3 separate regions of the Homo sapiens genome follow, and regions 2 and 3 are each linked to region 1. Evidence: promoter capture Hi-C in 16 types of primary human blood cells and fetal thymus (Javierre and others, 2016). All regions are on one chromosome and are shown on one strand. Each heading gives the region's core, a stretch centred on a gene start or on the middle of the fragment in contact. The rest is flanking DNA. Distances are from core to core; before and after follow the strand shown.

Region 1 (3,690 bases), core at 786-3,285:
CTAAAAATACAAAAAATTAGCTGGGCGTGGTGGTGGGTGCCTGTAGTCCCAGCTATTTGGGAGGCTGAGGCAGGAGAATGGCATGAACCCGGGAGGCGGAGCTTGCAGTGAGCCAAGATCGCGCCACTGCACTCCAGCCTGGGCGACAGAGCGAGACTCCATCCCCCAAAAACAAAAACAAAAACAAACTCACTCATTCCAGGAATGACTATGAAAAAGGAAAAAACAGATAAAAATTTAAAAATCAAAACAATAAACTATCACTCATTCCCCTTACCTTTTTCCCTTCCCTTCCTGCTCATAGGTAATACCACCTGTCCTGAAGCGGATGTGTAGAACTTCCCAGCATGATGATGTTCTACTGCACATCTAACACTTTTCCTGATTTTTTAACTCTTGGTTTCCTCAGTAAAACGAAGGAAATAACTACTTCTCCAGGTTACTGATAGGACTGTAAACTATACTTATAAGGTACCTGTCATGGTGAGTGGCATTGAAAGTGACACAGGACCCAGAAATTTCATTTCTTCCCAGTAGATTATAAGCTACTGTCTGACAGTATAAGCAGCCCAGCTAACAAAATGTTGATTTAATTAATTCTATTTACTATTCCCCAAACAGAATACTTTTGCCTACCCGCTTCTTCATCTTCTGATCTCTCATGCAGTCTCTCGAATTCCTGTCCCTTAATCTTGACAGTGACACACCAGTGTTATTTATCTGCATGGGTGGCACAAGGAGCTGTCAGTCACCTGCTCCATCTCACGCCATGAGGTACCTAAAGTTCTGTGTGACCTAAGGACAGGTGAGGGCTATAGGAGAAAGCCTAATGTTGTGGGACATACTTTAAAATCAGGCGCTTAGTTCAAATCCTGTATCTCTAGCACTTAATCACCAAATGCTCTTTCTGTACGGAGACAACCTCTTTGTACTTCAGATTCTCCATGTCTAAAATGGGGACAATTTCATCCGCTTCTCTGGGTAATGATAACAGAACCCTTACTGTGTACTATGTAACAGGTAGCCTTCGAAGCATTTATTATTGCATATATTAAGTCGTTTAATCCTAACAAAAACGCCAGGAAGTAGAAGAGACCATTTCCCCCATATGACAGACGAAAACCAAGACACTTAGTGTTTCAGTAACGTGCAGTAGACACAGAGCTAAATGTGAAGGAGCCAGAATTCGAACCCAAGCAATCTGATGCAGTATTCTTAAGCACTTCGCTTTGCTGGGATATCGTAAAGCTACAGTTGTAAGATCAAGGGTGCCAGGAACATGGCACACAGTAGACACTCAAAAACAAGAGTAGCCCAGCTCGTGATTATGGAAGGCCACAGAAAAAGTACAAAGTGTTTTCGTTGTTCCTCAGGAGGGACACGGAGGTAGTAGTGCCAGAGGTCTGGGCTGGGATTACTCTGTGCAGGGCATCATGTTACGCACTGGAGTATATGGGCAACAACATGCCAGGTCCTAGCCCATGCTCGGCCTCCGACGCCCCGGGAGACCTTGGCAGAGTTCGCCCCCGCCCCGGGCCTCTGTTTCCCCATTTGGGAACGTATTTATGTATCTGCTGTCCTCCCAGGATGTTGGCCAGACTAGAGGACTCAGCGGGCCGAGGCGAACCAGTGCAGGAAACGGAAGAACCCGAGCGGCCTCCAGCTCCGGGCCGGGCCGCCAGAGCAGGGCTAGATCAATGCGGACCGACCCGTAGTTACGCGCGCGGTACTCACCTCGCACGCAGACTCCTAGCGGACGGAACCAGGATCCAAACTTCCCGCGCCGCAACCACGGCCGCCGCGCCAAGCCCTGGCTCACTTCCCGCCGGAAGCTTGCCTATTCCGATTGGCTGCTTCCTGGGGAAGCCGACCAATACTGTCGCACTCGGACATCTGTTCCCGCCCCCTCAGGCTGCTGGGGCGGGGTCGCCGTACAGCGCCGGGAGGGACGCGTATCTCCAAAGCCCAATCAGAGTCCGGACGGGAGGGTCAGATGACTACGGTTACATCTCGGGCTTCCGGAGCTAGTTGGGTCTTTGTTTTTGGTGTTTTAGAGTCGGTGAAGGCTTTAAAGGAAGTAGGCAGCTGGAACCCGGCTGTGGCGGGTTGAAAAGCCCGGGCGTTTGAGAGCTGAGACTTGCCAGTTCCCACAGGCCAAGCCAGGCGTCTGCACCCCATTCTCTTGGTTCCGACGGTGTGTCTCTGCGATGTTTTGGCGGTCTCTCCTCTCCATCCCCTTAATAATACTGGTCTCTGTTTCACCCGTACCCCTCTACACGAGCAGGTGCAAATTGTCATTGAACCGGGAAAGTGGGCACACACTCAGATGCCTCCATGGACACGTGAGAAACCATGCTTCTGTTTCAGCCTATTGCTGACACGCGGGAATGTGGGCCCTGTGATGCCAGATCTTACTTTCTTTCCTTTCTTCCTCTCTTCTCCCCTCTCTACTTCCTTCCCTCTCTCCTTCCCTCCCGCCCTCCCTCCTCTTTGTGTGTGTGATAAAATCTATCTAACATAAAATTCACCATTTTTAAGTGTACAGTTCACTGGCATTAAGTACATTCACATTGTTGTGAAACCATCACCACTATCCATCTCCAGAACTTTTTCATTATCCCAAATAGAAAATCTGCCTGTTACACAGTAACTCCCCGTTACCCGTTTCTCACAACCCCTTATAGCCGATATTGCACTTTCTGTCTGTAAGTGCGAGGTACCGCATATAAATTGAATCATACAATAATTGCTCTTTTCTGATTGGCTTATTTCACTTAGCATAATGTCTTCAAGGAGCATCTATGTTGTAGCATGTATCAGAATTTCTTCCTTCTTGAGGCTAAATAATATTCCATTATACATGTATACTACATTTTGTTTATCCATTCATCCATATAAATGGATGCTTGGTTATTCCCACCTTTTGGCTATTGTGAATAATGCTGCTATGAACTTTGGTATACAAATAATCATTCTCCACATAATACGCAGAAAGAGTTTTCTAAAATGTAAAAATCTGTTCAAGTTACCTCCCTCCTGAAAATCTTCTATGGTAAATTGAAACCAAAATATGATACTATTAAACACTCCATAGAATAGCTGAAATGAAAAGACTGACAATTCCCTTAGTTGCAAAGATGCAGAAATGGGACTCTCATACAGTGTTGATGGGAGTGTAAAATGGTACAACCACTTTGGAAACATCAGTCTCTACTGAAATCAAATTTACCCCTACCCTATACCCCAGAAATCCCATTTCTAGATATTTACCCCAAAAAATGAATGCCTTTATTCACCAAAAGACTCATAGCAGCTTTATTCATAATAGCCAAAGGGAAAAAACCCAGATGTCCACCAATAGATGAATAGATAAATTGCAGCTTATTCATATAACTGTATACTACTGTTGAAGAATAATTTTAATATCAAATATAATACAGATATAAAATAAATGTTAGAGATTTTATTTAACTCATTAATGAATGAGATATCCAGAAAGATTACAACTGCTTCAATGGAAAATTCAAAGTACCACACACATAGTCAAATGAGGAATAATGAAATAACTACAAATATATACAAAAACTGGCAGAACTGATGAAATCCACAGCTTAGTAATCAATTGCATTCTACTGAAAACAATTTGCATTTCTTTTTTTTTTTTTTTTTTTGAGACGGAGTCTCACTCAG
Region 2 (3,690 bases), core at 714-3,213, 120 kb after region 1:
TCCCTGGGGTCCTGTGGCCTCGCAGCCTCAGGCCACACCTGCCTGCATTGCTCTGAGAGGCAAAGGATGCTCTCAGGATCCCTGGGCACCAGGCAGAGTGTGAGCAGGTGGAGGGGGTGGCGGGAGCCTCCGGGCACAGGAGCTTTAGGAGGCGCTTCCTAAGAGCCTCAGGGCCAGTGCCCGTCTTCCTGGTAGAGAGCCCCTGTCCTCCATGCTCGCCTTGGCCAATCGCATCCTTCCCTCGGCCCCACTGTCACCCACAGTCCAGTAACTCATAAATCGACACCTCCAGCTCCCAACAGTTCTTTTGTGAACTCCAAGTGCATACTTCCAACTGCCTACTCAAGTTCTCTGCCAAAAGTACCCAAGACAGCTCAAATTCTACCAAAAATCCAACCAATCACTGTCCCCTTAATCTGTTCCTCTTCTTATAGTCCATCTCATTTAGTGAGGCCACCGTCCACCAAGACACTCATGTTAGGATCTCAGAGTCATCCCAGTGTGTTCTCTCTCTCCCCAAGCCTCTGCAGTTCTGTGCAGGAAAATCTTCCTCCTCGAGTTACTGCCTCAATCCATCAACACAGGGACTGCTGTTCCTCTCAACCTGTGGAGTGTTAGAGGGAACAGTTCTTACTCTTCACCAAAGGAAGGGGAGCAGCTCTTCTTCTTCTGATAAGAGAGGACATCAGTTGGCCAGTTTACCAGTGGGTGGGGTTACTGAGCCACAGAAGCTGAAAACAAGACCCGCCCTGGCCCTTTCTTTGTGCTGCTTGACCTGCGGCTGGGTGAGCAGGCCCAGGGTTCCCTTCTCTTGGCTTCCCGTCCCTGTGCGGTCAGTGTACCTGGGCAGGGCTCAGGAACTGCCTTGTCGGGGCAGCCTGGAAGCCAGTCATTTCTCTCCTGCTCTGGAACTCTGTGTTCTGCCAGGGACACAGTTTGTGGGGCAGGCCTGAGACCTTCCATGTAGCTGGTGGGGTAAGTGGGCTCGGAGTCTGGTTAACAGAACCCACCTACCAAGACAAGTTTCAGGGTCAGATTTAATATATAAAACTGGCCACAATTTGGCTCCTTCCTGATTGCTCAGCCATGTGTTTATTGTCATTCTACTTCTTTTTGTCCCTTTACCTCTAACTATGTCCCACTAGAAGACATCTTAAAGTGAAACTGTAAGGGAGGATATGAGTGGCATCTTTTTGAGTCCTTGCATTTATAAGAACATCCTGTTTCCCTCAGCAAATGAGAGGCAAACAGGTTGCATGTGGTATTGTGAAGTCAGAATATTTCCCCCTTAAAATTCTAAAGACCAATGTTTCCTTGTCCTTCAAGATAAGACGGGTGTTAGGTAACAGTTGGATTTTGTGATCACTTAAGTTTTGAAATTCTGGGTTAAAGATAAGAAGTTTATTAACTGCAGGACTTTTCAGAGCCCTGATATATACGGTCAGGCTCCAAGAGGTGATACAGAGTATGGTGTTTCTCAAATGTAATAGGCCATGCATCTCAAAGAAACAGTGTCCTATAAACCAATGTCCTAACATTTTCATCTCATTATGATGAAAAGAATCAAAGCAAGGCCCAGCCCAGAGAGGAGAATCATTCCTAACTCTAGTAGGTCTTAGGCATCTCTTCACGACCCTTCACGCTGGTGAACTCTTGACTTCCTTTCAAGGAAGGCATTTCGTGTTTCCTTCTGAGCGTGTCATCCACAAGGCTGAGAAAATATTTTATTTGCTATAAATTTATGTTAATAGTTCAGAAGTTTAGCAATGGTGTTTGGGACACGGCACGTCTGCCAACCTTGATGAGTGAGAGTAAGAAGGGCTGCTACAGACTGCACATCTGCAGAAGGGCAGAAGAGCTTCTCTTCCAAGTGCCCGAGCCCAGGCCCCCAGCCAGGAGCAAGCCCTGGCAGTGCCTCTCCTCCGCCTGTGTGGGGCTAGGCCAGGGCCCAGCTGCAGCTGTGCCTTGGTCTTGTGTGGCCACCCATGCCAAGGGCAAAGCCCACTCCAGAAGGAATCTCCTGTGGCAGAGCTCTGCGTGCTGTGGCTGCCCACTCTGAGAGGAGGCCAGAGTATTTGTTAAACAATGTTCGTTTTATTTGAGATCACCCTATCATAGGAGTGAACCCTTAAAACCCTTGTCTAAGCCAGTGTGTCTTAAATAACACCCAAGCCAAGAAACAGCTATAATAATTCTGATTTTTTCCTTTTGTTCTAACAAAGATTCAAACTAGTGTTTTATACTTTCAAATGAAGAAACTTCATTTAAAAAGTCATAGACAAATGTTCAAGGCCACAATTTTAAGCAGATTATTTCACAACCAACAGAATGCAGGTCGTGAAAGCAAAGACGGAATCACAGCCCTCCTCCTCCAAGTGGAATAGATTAACACCAAAATAAAATCATCCCATTTCACGGACCCTTGATTCCTCAAAAGAGACTGGGCTAAAGAACTTTCTTTGCATCAACCGATGTCCAGTCCCAGGAACCCAATTTAGGAGCTTAGGAGACCACAGAGACATGGCTCATGATCAGTGAATCTGACTCATACTGTCTAATAACTTTAATTTCTCTGCATATTAACTTGGTTTTTGTTTCTCCTTCCTTTAGGAGTTGACTAGCTTTGCTTATGCTCTCAAGTTGATCCATACAGTGCCAGATTATACCCTATCATAAGAGATAGGGTCCCCTGAACACAAGAAGTCATCTCCCCTTCTGGGTAGGACTTTGCACCACATTCTCTTCCCTCTGCCTGGAACATACCTCCCAACTGCTTTACTCTCTTAAATCTCACTCATTACCATCTAAAACCATTTTCCTTTCTTATTGCCTGTTTGCTGTCATCTCCCACAGGACTGTGAACTCAAGAAAGCAGGAAGTATGCCTCCCTTATTCATCACTGGGTCCCCAGTGCTTAGAACAGTGCCTGGCACAGAGACGGGGCTCTGTAAAGATCTGCTGAATGAACACTTTATCCTCTTACTTCTTATCCTTCAAGCCTCAGATGTTCCCCCAGGATGCCTTCTTCGTTTCCCCAGACTAGTTCAAGCTGCACCTCCGACGTGCTCCCACAGCCCCTGAGCTGCCTCCCTGCAGACGCCATACCTGCCGTGGCTGCTTGTTTGCTGAGTAGCCTCTCCCACTGAACCCTGGGCAACTTGAGGTCAGGGACCATGCTGTTTACTGTTACAGTGAATTAAAATGTCTAAAACGGTGTCTGACCACTAGCACATACTTAACAAATAATTTTTATAAGTGAATAAACATTCTCCTCTTTTTTCTTCAATTCCCTTCTCTATTTTGGTTAGTAAAACTATATGCATGCTTATACATTTAGACCGTACTTCAAAAGTATCTGAGATAGCCACATATACATACACACACGTATATATAGCATAATGTTTAATCTAATATATAGAAATGAGAGCACTGACAGGAAAAAGAGGGAACTGAGAACTGAAAAAATATACATTGGTTTTTTTTTTTTTTTTTTGAGACGGAGTCTCGCTCTGTTGCCCAGGCTGGAGTGCAGTGGCGCGATCTCGGTTCACCGCAAGCTCCACCTCCCGGGTTCACACCATTCTCCTGCCTCAGCCTGGGACTATAGGTGCCCACCACCGAGCCTGGCTAATTTTTTGTAATTTTAGTAGAGACGGGGTTTCACCACGTTAGCCAGGATGGTCTCAATCT
Region 3 (3,690 bases), core at 458-2,957, 66 kb after region 1:
AACAACCTCTGCAACCTCCCAGAGACCGTCTTACTGGCTGCAAACGAAGCCACGCAAGCTGTGGCTGCCGGGCCCCTCTCCTTCCAAAAGCCAGGCCAGTGTAACCCGGTCCCCATGTCATGCTGGCTGGGTCAGTGTTCTCTCCTAGGAATCTGAAGCTTGAATGGGGGAGAAACAGGAGTCCAGGAGTCGCTGCAAATGAGCCATATGGACAGTCATGGGAACCAAAGCTCAGGGCTTTTGAACTTTCTTGCCCAAACTTGCAGGTAAGTCCTGGAAACAGAGACCTTTGCCTCTCCATCCAGACTGGGCCTTCCGGAAACAGAGACCTTTGCCTCTCCACCCGGACTGGGCTGTCCTGGAAAGGTACAGATGGAAAGGATGAAAAGAATGGCATTGGCCGGGTGTGGTGGCTCACACCTGTAATCACTTTGGGAGGCCAAGGCGGGCAGATTACTTGAGGCCGGGAAGTCAAGCCTGGCCAACAGGGCGAAACCCTGACTCTACTAAAAATACAAAAATTAGCTGGGTGTTGGGGTACGTGCTGGTAATTCCAGTTACTTGGGAAGCAGAGGTTGCAGTGAGCCAAGATCATGCCACTGCATTCCAGCCTGGGCAGCAGAGCAAGACCTTGTTTCCAAAAAAAAGAATGACATTGGCTGCCATTTAATTGGGTGCTGGGGAGTCAGAATCGAATCAGACGTAGTCCTTATGTCACGTTTCTTATAGACCAGTGGGAAGGCAAACGCTCTACCACAAAATCAGCTCTACAGTTAAAACAGTAAAGCTGGCCAGGCATGGTGGCTCACGCCTGTAATCCCAGCACTTTGGGAGGCCGAGGTGGGTGGATCACGAGGTCAGGAGATTGAGACCATCCTGGCTAACATGGTGAAACCCTGTCTCTACTAAAAGTACCAAAAAAAAAAAAAAAAAATTAGCCAGGCGTGGTGGCGGGCGCCTGTAGTCCCAGCTACTCGGGAGGCTGAGGAAGGAGAATGGCGTGAACCTGGGAGGTGGAACTTGCGGTGAGCTGAGATTGCACTACTGCACTCCAGCCTGGGTGGCAGAGCGAGACTCAGTCTCAAAAAAAAAAAAAAAAAAAAAAAAAGTAAAGCCGTGGAAATCAAGTGCAACTCAAGCACAAAGGGAAATGAACAGAGGTGGTGTATCAGTCAACTGTTGTCACATATATGCTGTGTAACAAATGGCCATAATTCAGTGGCTTACTACTCTCAGCGTTTATCTTTGGCTCACGTGTCTGTAGATTTCTGGGGCAGCCCTGCCGATTTCAGCCGGACCTGGCTAGATGGCTCCTGGGCATGGGTTTGGTTAAGGTCTGTCCTGTCTCTCATTCTTCTGGGACCAATGGGCTACCCAGGGAGTAGCTGTGCTAGTGGCAATGGCAGAAGCACAAGAGGGTGAGCCGTGTCACCGAGCCCATGTCAAGGTGCAAGGGCCTGAACCCAGTGGGCCGGGCTCCAAGGCCTCCTGACCCCATGTCAAGGCTTTGCTGTTTGGTCGTATCTCCAGCATGTCACCGGCCAAAGCAAATCACGTAGCCGAGCCCGAGGGCAAAGGGGCTTGGGGGCAGCTGGCAAGGCCTGCCATTAGGTCTGCGGGTGCCTGTTTTCTGGGCTTGGGGGTCAAGTAGATGGGAGACACCTAGACGGATGGGAAATCTTTTTAAAAATGGGGGGGTAGAGCCTAGAGATCCCACAGTAGGAGGGGAGGGAAGTAAATATTTGCAAATGAGAATCCAAACCTCACAGAAGGCTTCACAGAGGAGGTGTCACTTGACCTAGGCCTGGAAGGAGAAGTTAGATTTTTCTAAGTGAAGATGGGTGTTGCACGGTGAGCAGGTGTATGCAAACCTAATCCCAAAGGCCGAGGGAGCTGAGAGGCTGAACACAGAGGCTGACAAATCCAGTTGCTTAGGAACATTTAATAGGGACTTAGAAACAAAAGCCATGTCTCGGGCAGCCAGGAGATGGTGGATCCCCACATTGTTGCCCCCCCGAGACCCAGGGCATATATACCATAGGGTTATGATAACATATTTATAGTGTTTACAGCACCACAGTTTTATGATACAGATTTACAGTGTTTATAATAACATATTTACAGTAAGTGTGTGCTCTTAACAGTAGATAAAAGTAGAAATCTTAAAGGCATTCCTGGAAGTGGGGTTAATCAGAAGTCAACATGACGCATTAGCACCCAGGAGGGAGTTGCTTTGGCCTCCAAGGTGGGATAGGGCACAGCTGTCAAAGGGTTGATGGGGAGGAGGCATTGAGGTCCCGCAGCCTGGCATGTCCTTTCCTTGAACACAGTACTTGGGACCCCACCCCAGTCATTTTATTTCCAAATTCTAAAACTTCAACTCTGTGTCACCAGATACAAGTTCAAGACACAGTGGTTTTTAGCAAGTCATCGTAATGGAGGGTACAGTGCTTTGTCCCTTTCCTGTAAATTCCATCGAGCCTGAGTCAGTTATATAGCCCACTCACTCCCATTTCAGAGTTCAGTCTCCAACCTTGCAGTCCAGCAGTGACATCCCTGTGACTGTGACCAACTCAGACCTTGAAAAGACTCCTTGATGACAAAGTCAAGGTAGCCATGAGGTGAAGGAAAATAACCCAAGAATGGAAAAACCCATTCTAGAAGGACAGGCGGTGGAACAGGGAATCCATACACACACAACAGGCCAAACAATGGTGGGAACGATGGTTACAGGACAGGATGTAAGTAGTATAAACCTTGACAATGTAAAAACACGAACTCACAAAATTTGGGAGGGGGAAGGAGCTAGGAAGTGGTGGTGAGCTCATTTCCTTATCCTAAATCGTAGGTTGTCAAGAGATGCCATCTATAGTTGAAACATGCTGAAAGAATGAATCCAGCTGCTTAATATTTTTCTTTCCTTTAGAGAAATAATTTAGAACCAGAAGAAGCAGCGTCATTATTTGCAGCTTGGTAATTTCTTTAGTTACATTTAAGTTGCCTTTTGTTCTGTTAAATTTAAGTATGGCACTTTTTCTAAAAAGAGTATGTATTGTATGAGCCCATTTTGGTTAAAAAAACTCCTTTGAATATGTGCGTAGAGAGATGTCTCCATCCATGTTTCCTGGGTGTCAGCCATGATTATTTCTGGGGTGCTGGATTTCCGGACCACTTGAAATTTTTGTTTTTGGTACTCTTCGGTGTTACTTGAATTTCTTATAATGAGCATGCACTATTTTTATCAGAGCAAAGCTTTTTTAAAAAATTAAAATACATGTCTGGAAAAGAGAGAGAGAAAAAAAAAACACGTGTTCCTTTGCCAGGCTTCTATCTCACTGGGATCCGTGGGGACCCTTCCCAGAGGGGCTGCTCAGAGCCCACCTCTGCAGGGTGAAGGGTGCGATTCATTTCCGCACCCCTCACCCTGGTGATGGGCGTAGTCGGGGGCCGGGGGTGCACAGGGGAGGGAAACTTGTGAGCAGATCCTGAAGGATGCACTTTGGAGCCCTGGGTTCTGGGCTGGTGAGGTCAGGAGGCCTTGATGTGAGGCCCACTGGGTCCAGGCTTTGTGCCTTCACTGTTTAGTTGGGTGACAGAGCCTCTATGGGCCTGTTTCCTCTTCTGTAAACTCAAGAAGTCATCCTTGGCTAGGGGCAGTGGTTCACGCCTGTAATCCCGGCACTTTGGGAG

Evidence for each region. The method cuts DNA at HindIII sites, captures the fragments that hold promoters and counts their contacts. A CHiCAGO score of 5 or more calls a contact.
Region 2: a fragment that was not itself captured here is called in contact with the fragment with the promoter of CRTC3-AS1 in region 1 in 1 of 17 cell types (erythroblasts); the score reaches 5.0 in erythroblasts.
Region 3: a contact is called between a fragment that was not itself captured here and the fragment with the promoter of CRTC3-AS1 in region 1, in 2 of 17 cell types (megakaryocytes and erythroblasts). The highest score is 6.8, in megakaryocytes.

The regions. Positions count from the first base shown.
Region 1 is chr15:90,715,485-90,719,174 of GRCh38, reverse strand. CRTC3-AS1 (CRTC3 antisense RNA 1) reads left to right here and starts at 2,035. Exons shown (of 4, transcript NR_120372.1): 1 at 2,035-2,194. BLM (BLM RecQ like helicase) reads right to left here and starts at 1,829. Exons shown (of 22, transcript NM_000057.4): 1 at 1,735-1,829. The HindIII fragment of the contact is 2,609 bases long and covers 1,835-3,690 here.
Region 2 is chr15:90,595,364-90,599,053 of GRCh38, reverse strand. All of the region lies in intron 3 of CRTC3 (CREB regulated transcription coactivator 3), which reads right to left. LOC124903555 (a long non-coding RNA gene) reads left to right here and starts at 3,076. Exons shown (of 2, transcript XR_007064758.1): 1 at 3,076-3,163. LOC124903554 (a long non-coding RNA gene) reads right to left here and starts at 27. Exons shown (of 2, transcript XR_007064756.1): 1 at 1-27. RefSeq lists enhancers at 563-857, 3,025-3,094. The HindIII fragment of the contact is 4,338 bases long and covers 1-3,690 here.
Region 3 is chr15:90,649,338-90,653,027 of GRCh38, reverse strand. All of the region lies in intron 2 of CRTC3-AS1 (CRTC3 antisense RNA 1), which reads left to right. Among named protein-coding and RNA genes, the nearest start is that of LINC01585, 9.1 kb to the left of the region's middle. The HindIII fragment of the contact is 3,094 bases long and covers 161-3,254 here.